2 separate regions of the Homo sapiens genome follow, and region 2 is linked to region 1. Evidence: promoter capture Hi-C in 16 types of primary human blood cells and fetal thymus (Javierre and others, 2016). All regions are on one chromosome and are shown on one strand. Each heading gives the region's core, a stretch centred on a gene start or on the middle of the fragment in contact. The rest is flanking DNA. Distances are from core to core; before and after follow the strand shown.

The links. Contacts are between HindIII fragments. The CHiCAGO score rates a contact against its expected background, and 5 or more counts as called.
Region 2: a fragment that was not itself captured here is called in contact with the fragment with the promoter of SLAMF7 in region 1 in 1 of 17 cell types (total B cells); the score reaches 7.3 in total B cells.

Annotation. Positions count from the first base shown.
Region 1 is chr1:160,736,695-160,740,496 of GRCh38, reverse strand. It overlaps SLAMF7 (SLAM family member 7), which reads right to left and starts at 1,250. Exons shown (of 7, transcript NM_021181.5): 1 at 1,141-1,250. The coding sequence starts at 1,195. It overlaps LOC124904440 (a long non-coding RNA gene), which reads left to right and starts at 1,338. Exons shown (of 2, transcript XR_007066687.1): 1 at 1,338-1,414. The HindIII fragment of the contact is 11,353 bases long and covers 1-3,802 here.
Region 2 is chr1:160,776,645-160,780,446 of GRCh38, reverse strand. It overlaps LOC105371470 (a long non-coding RNA gene), which reads left to right. Exons shown (of 3, transcript NR_188636.1): 2 at 3,799-3,802. Among named protein-coding and RNA genes, the nearest start is that of LY9, 18 kb to the left of the region's middle. RefSeq lists enhancers at 2,595-2,664, 2,985-3,034. The HindIII fragment of the contact is 4,063 bases long and covers 153-3,802 here.

The DNA.
Region 1 (3,802 bases), core at 1-2,500:
GGTACACTACACAGGCTGCCTCTGGAGGAGGGCAGAGGGGGACCTGCATGGCAGTTTTTCATACTTGTGCTCTTTCGCTGACTGATTTCAGATGGACACCTGTAGCTTTCAAAGTCTCTATAATTTTCCCCAACCCCTCCACCTTATCTCCCTCAAGTTCTATTTCTGCTCATCATTTCCGTTCAGGGAGTTTTTTTTTTGTTTTTTTTTTTTAAAGTGAGGGCCTATTCCAGAACCACCTGGTTAGACCCAGGTACCTCTCAAAAATACAAACTTCTGATGAATTCAAAGTGGGTAAGAGTCTGCTGATGCTGACCACTTAGCGATGCAGGGGAAAATATTGGGGGCACCAGCTGCCTGCGTGGTCTTGGGCAGATCACTCCAGGCAGGCTCAGATACACATAATGAAGCAGTTATGTGAAGTCCTTATAGGGGGACCTCATGGTAGTACTCCATGAGATTGATGACAGAAGAGATATTTCTCACTTATAGGGCTCCTGATCCTTTCTGAGAGCCCTTAGGATAGAAAAATCTTCAAAGACTAGAATACCAGTGACAGGTGGAGAACTGTCCTCTGTCCTCCATGGGATTAAACATAAAGTGCCTATGGTATGAGTTGGTTCTCTAAGTAGAGACTGATTACATTGCTTGAGTAAGGAAAGAAAATTCAAGTGATTCTTTCCATTTATATTACTGTTATGCATAACCAATTTTATAAATACATTTATAAGTAAATAAATACATACCTGTATAGTATCATCTTGTTCTTAAAGTTGCCCTCAAAAGGAGAGAAGGCTAGAAGATAAAGTTTCTGAGGCCCAGGAAAACTTTAACATTCCTTATCTAACTCATGGCAGAACCTGGATTAGAAAAATGGTCTCTGATACCCAGCACCACTTCTTTCAGCTCCTTCATCCCTGGGACAGTCAACAGGGGAGTCAGTTCCCAGAGCCATTTTTCCCCCTCTCTCTAGTCTCTTCCTGACCTGAGAATCAGAGATCAGAGATTGATAAAAAGCAAATGTTAGATGAGAACACAGAGCCTCCCGAGTTGAGCCAGAGGCCCAGAGTGGAACAAGAAACCTGGAACTATTCAGGATGGGGTAGACAGGAGAGTGGAAGAGAATCCGGCCGGACTCACCTGTGAGCTGCCAAAGGATATAGATGAGGGTGAGGCATGTTGGGGAACCAGCCATATTGCTCTCTGGAAGTCAGCCACTGAAATGAAGCCACTTCCCTCTTAGGTATTACTCAGACCTCTTCCCCAGCTGATATTTAAAGAAGCAGGAGGGGTCACGCCGCAGACATGTGAGATTGAGTAATTGCTAAATTATTTTCAGAGTGAATAGAGCATTTTACCTTGCCACCAGCAATCTATGAGAGATCTATTTGCTCCCCATCTTCATCAGCATTTGGTATATTCCCATTTTATATTTTAGCTGTTTTAATAGGTGCTGTAGTGATACCTCATTGTGGCTTTAATTTGCATTTCCCTAAAGCCTAATAATGTTGAACATCTTTTCATGTGCTTATTTGCCATCTATATATCCATATCCTCCTTGGTGAAATGTCTATTTATGTCTTTTGTCCATTTTATAATCAGATTCTTTATTTTTTTTACTGTTGAGCTTTGACAATTCCTTATATGTTCCAAGTATAAGAGTCATTTGTCAGATATGTGGTTTACAAATATTTTCTCTTGGTCTGTAGCCTGTCTTTTCATCTTCTTAACGGGGTCTTTGGCAGAGCAAAAATTTTAATTTTGATGAAATTCAACTTATCAGTTTTTTTTCTACCCACACTAGGGTCCAAAGGTTTTCTCCTGAAAGTTTTATAGTTTTATGTTTTACATTTAAATGTATGATCCTGTTTTAATGTAAGGTGTGAAGTTTAGGTTGAGATTCACCTAAATATATTGTCTATATTCATTGAGAACCATATCAGGTAATATGGTTGACAGTTTTTTTTTGCTTTCGACACTTGAAAAGTGTCATGACACTCCTCCCCTCCATGGTTTCCAGTGAGAAATCAGCCATCATTTAAATTGTTTTCCCTATAGGTAATGTGTCATTTTTCTCTAGCTGTTTTAAAAGTTTTTTGTTTGCCTTTGGTTTTCAGAAGTATGATTACAATGTGCGTGTTTTTTTTTCTTCTGCCTGTGGGTGTTCAATTGTTCTACTACCATGTGATGGAAAAGATGATCTTTCCTACATTGAATTACTTTTGTATCTTTATCAAAAATCAGCACTTATACTTGTGTGGGTATATTCTGGAGCTATCTATTCTATTTAACTGACTTACATAATGTAATTATTTATATATCAGAGCTTAAGTTTGCCATGTTATTATTTTCTCTTTGTTCTTCTGGGCTTTTGTTTGTTTATTTTGTTCCTCTGTTTCACTTTCCTGGCCATCCTGTGTGTTACTGGAATATTTTTTATAATTCCATTTTGATTTATCTATAATGTATCTTTTTGAAGAGTTTTTTTACTGGTTGCTGTACATATTGCATTTTACATACATAACTTTTGATCTACCTATCAGTGTTGACATTTTACCAGTTGAACTAGGTATAGAAAACTTACCTATATTAGGTTTCTTTATTAGTCTATCTTTATACTTGTCTTAAATATATTGTCTATATTCATTGAGAACCATATCGGTAAGATTATAAGTTTTGCTTCAATTGTTGAACATAATTCAGAACACTCAAGAGGAGAAGGACAATCCATTACATTTACCCATATTTTAACTCTTTTCATTGTTATTTCTTTATTTCTAATGTTTCAAGTTTCCTTCTTTTTATTTTTTTTTGGACGAAGTCTTGCTCTGTCATACAGGCTGGAGTGTAGTGGCATGATCTTGGCTCACTGCAATCTCCGCCTCCTGGGTTCAAGCGATTCTCCTGCCTCAGCCTCCTGAGTAGCTGGGACTACAGGCTCATGCCACCATGCCCACCTACTTTTTGTACTTTTAGTAGAGATCAGGTTTCGCCATGTTGGCCAGGCTAGTCTCAAACTCCTGACCTCAGGTGATCCACCAACTTTGGCCTCCCAAAGTGCTGGGATTACAGGTATGAGCCACCACACCCAGCCTTCAAGTTTTCTTCTTTAATCATTTCTTTCTGTTTCAAGATATTCTTTAGGAATTCTTTTATGATAAGCCTGCTGATAACAAATTATCTTAGTTTTCCTTCACCTGAGAATGTCTTGATTTAACCCTCATTCCTGGGTATAAAATTCTAGGTTGACAGTTTTTTTTCTTTCAACACTTGAAAAGTGTCATGACACTCCTCCCCTCCATGGTTTCCAGTGAGAAATCAGCCGTCATTTAAGTTGTTTTCCCTGTAGGTAATGTGTCATTTTTCTCTAGCTGTTTTAAAAGTTTTTTGTTTGTCTTTAGTTTTCAGAAGTGTGATTATAATGTGTCTTGGTGTGAATTTCTTTGGGTTTCTCTTATTTGTGATTCATTGAGTCTCTTGAATCTGTAGGTTTTTACCTTTTGCTAAGTTTGGGGAAATTTCATTATTTTTTGAATACTTTTTTTTCAGCCTCACATTCTCGCTTCTCTCCTAAAATTCTGATGACATGAATGTTATAAATCTTTTGTTTTTCTCCCACAGGGCTCTGAGGCTCCATTTTTTTTTTTTTTTTTTTTTTTTTTTGGCCTATTTTCACTCTGTTTTCAGATTGGGTATTTTCTATTGTTTATCTTCAAGTACACTGATTCTTTCCTTTTTCATCTCCATTTTGCAATTTTTTATTTTTTTATTTTTTCTGAGACAGAGTCTCACTCTGTTGCCC
Region 2 (3,802 bases), core at 935-3,434, 39 kb before region 1:
CAGAAGTGACTGGACAAAGCCTTATGGGGATGTGGTCTCGAGCAAGTCACCTAAATTCTTTGTCACTGTTTTCCCGTCTATAAAATGGGGATAATAATCCCCTCTCAGGCCTGTTGTGACCTTCTGGCGTAGTCAGGCTACCCCCTGAAGCTTCTGTTCTGTGTCTGCAGGACCAGGGACTTCCAGAGGGACCACAGCACCCCTAGTGGTCACTGGGACCTAGGAGGGTCTGTCATTCTGCCCCTGCAGACGCTCTGGACAGGAGGTGGCGACCATCTCCTGGATATCGCTCTGGACAGGAGGTGGCGACCATCTCCTGGATATCGCTCTGGACAGGAGGTGGCGACCATCTCCTGGATATCGCGTTCGGTCCCCATGGAGATCACCACAGTAACCATGGGAGAAGCTGGGGGCCCAGACATCTTTTACCAAGCGGAAACCTGGTCCTCGGGTCGCTTGAGTGTCATGAGTCCAGGTTTATCCCTGCGTGTAGATCAGCAACCTGAGCTGGGAGGATACAGGGCCCTACCGAGCCCATGTTAACCTGAGGATTTCCTGCAGCACCCTCACCTGGGAGTACCATCTGCAAGTCTATAGTGGGTGTCTTAGAGATGGCAGCAGTGGGTGAGGCAGTGTCAGCCTCTCAGTCATTTCTACAGCTTTAGTAACATTCGCAATTTGCAAGACTAATTTATGCGCACTGTTTTGTTTTTTGTTTTTAAAGATATGTAAGTTAGAGTTGCCAGAGAGAATCTCCTGAAAAATGTCAAGCCTCAGGACCTACCCTAGACCACCTGAAGCAGAGTTCTTGGGACAGTAGTGGTCAGAGAATGGGATTTCAGGCCCTGAGAACTGAGTTTTTCCACAACCTCCTCTTGTGGCCTGGAGCTTCCTCATTACTAAAATGGGAACAATACCTTTTTGTGAGAGTGAAAACATATGAAAGTGCTTTGGAAAGGCCTATGCAGATGCAGAGGGATGCTCTTATCAAATTCCTTAAAGAAATTTAAAAAATCTTAGCAGGAGAAACTACAAAGGAAGCAATGGGGTGGGTATCAAGCACACACAGCACCGAGAAAGGCCTATGAAAGATGCTACGCTGAGCCACTTTGAGATTCAGACAGTTGATTATTCATATAACGAATGGAAGAGTAGCCAAGGGTTCCAGATCCCTGGGCACTTGTCCCACACCAGAAAAGATGACATTGAAACAAAAGGGGCCAGATGGCTGCAGTGGGAGCTGTGGAATACCCAGATGCCGAGGGGCCAATTCTACCTTCAGCAAAGAGGACTTAGAGACCGCAGCTGTGTTCTGAGGACAAGAAGTCCCATACTGCATCAGAACCCCAGGAGCCAGGGGAAATAGTCTCATGACAGCCTCCCAGGGGAGATGGCTTCAAGGCTGTGCCTCACAGGCCACCTGAACTCTCGTGTTCTGGGTGGATCACAAGGCATTTTGCCAAGACCCAGTTTAGCAGAGGTTGAAACCTTTGCCTGAGAGAGATGTGCAAGGTCTCAGGGTGCTATGGCAGAGCCGTTCCCCTGCAATGAGCGAGGGGGACAGGTGGTGAGTGAGGATGGACATGGGAAGGCCAGCAGAGAACCTTCACAGACATTTTTCTTGGATTCTGTGATAGGAAATCTTCCTATTAGACGAAGGCACTCTTTTAGTGGAGTTGATGGGGCTGCTCTCTGGTCAGGTCCACATGGCTGGGGAGAAGGCGTGTCTGCCATAAATCAGGCCTGGGCTGGCTATGGCCTGCTTCTCACAACAGGACCAGGGCACAATGGAAGTGGGTTGCTGGGACTTGGGGTTGGGTTGCTCACTAGGGTAGGGTGGGCCCAAAACTGGTGGGAGAGGCCCTTTGGCCTCGCTGATAGTCATTCTGATAGCACTTACTTAGTGTGGTATGGTGTCAGGTGGAGTCTGGGTAGAGGATAGGGTTGTGCCAATCCATCAGGGGTGGGGTCTTCCAGAGAGCCCTTCTCTCTCTGGGTTGACATCCCAATGGCAAGGCAGTGCTAATGGTCAGGCTCCATCCTTCACAGGGTGTTTCCCATCACTGCAGCCTCACAACAGCCCTGCCAGTATGCAGGTCAGGAGTTTTCATTTCTAGGAAGGAAACGGAATCTTAGAAAGGGAAAATAAGACACCTATGACATGGAGCTAGAAAGTGGCAGATTTGGGAATCGAACTCAGGTATTCTGATGCTGTACCCTGTGCCTTCATTCTCTGGGTTTCTGGTATGTCGCCATATTTATTGGATGAGAAAAGGGCCAATAGAAGTCAAGTGGCTTGCATCCCAGGGCCTGATATATAGGAGACACAGTGGGGAGAGCCAGCAGCAAGGTACCCACCTGTGGGGATGTCCAGGCTGCCTTCTCCTGGGGGACACGCTGGGCCTGTGTGGTCCTACTTTGCACAGTTGAGTTTCCCCTGGGGCTGCAGTCGTGTGGGCCACAGGGCTGAGGCTGAGTAGCAGAGTAGCCTTGTTCTATGCAATATGACTTTGTTGAGTGTTTCAGGCCTGGTGTCTGCAGCTGCTCTTCTCGCCTCCCCCAAATCCTCCTGGGTCTGGCCTGGGAGGCTGGTGGACAAATAATGGCAATGTGGACACCTCGAGCACTTAAGAATATCTGGGTCATGGCCCTGGGGCAAGAGGAGACGGGGAGCAGGTCCAAGGGAGTGCAAGGGAGTGGGAGAAACCTCAAAGGCACACAGCCACCTCCTCTGGGACTCTTGATCAACACCTGGAAGCTCAGTGTATGCTGCAGAGCCCCCTACGGGGAAAATATGTAATTACAACACAGCTCCGTACTTGCATTCCTTTATCTATTCAGGGCAGGGTTGGGAAACTCAGTTTTGGGCTCAAATTCACTGGATTTGGATTTTGGCTTTACCACTTAACTAGATGAGACTTTGGGCAGGTTATCTAAGCATTCTGAGCCTGTGAAATGGAGTTGATATAACATCTTCCCTGTTTAGTTCATGGAGTTGTTCTGGAAATCAACTGAGATGTTAAGTGACATGGCCTTACATAGCACAAAGTTCTGGAACAGATGTGGGCAGATCCTGCCTCTGCTGTTCCTTCTGTGTATTCAAGGTGATGCAAGGTTTGGGCACTAATGCCGTGCATTTTCTGTCCTGTGAAGTGGAGGCCCAGAGCAGTTTCCCAGTCCTCAGTTTATTCCCTTTCGCACACACAGAGCAGCTGGCCTGGCCTCATGTCACACTGAGCTCCAGGATTAGTGAGGATGGATGCTGCATTGTCACTCTCATATGCCATTGACATGTGTGGCAGAGAGCAGAGGAGGCAGTGTGACTTACAGCTGGACACCCCTGGGACCCCAGACTGTTGTTGTGTCCTGTGGAGGGTCTGTCCTCAGTGTCTCCTTGAGGCTTGGGGACAGTGCTCTAACTTTTACCTGCATGGTCAAGAACCCATTCAGTAACAGCAGCTCCCACCCTATCTCAGTGCCTCACTTCTGCATATGTACCAGGCTCCTCAGTCTGCCCAGGGGCCTGAGCAGCTCTGGGGTTGACAGGGAGGGTGGAAGAAGAAGTCCTGGTTCCCTTCAGACCCTGGGGCAAGGGGGCTAACACCATTGGGAGGGTGGGAGTCTGGGGTGGGTGGGTGTTGGTCTGTGTGGTCATGGCAGTGGGAGGAGAAGACCCACTGGAGCTGGTGGGGAGGCTGGAGGGACTCACACAGGAGGAGCTGGATGGAGCCTGTGGCTTTCCTGACTAGGTGGGGAGACACTGACACTGAGGTTGTGGGTTCTCTTCTTTGTCTACAGGGTC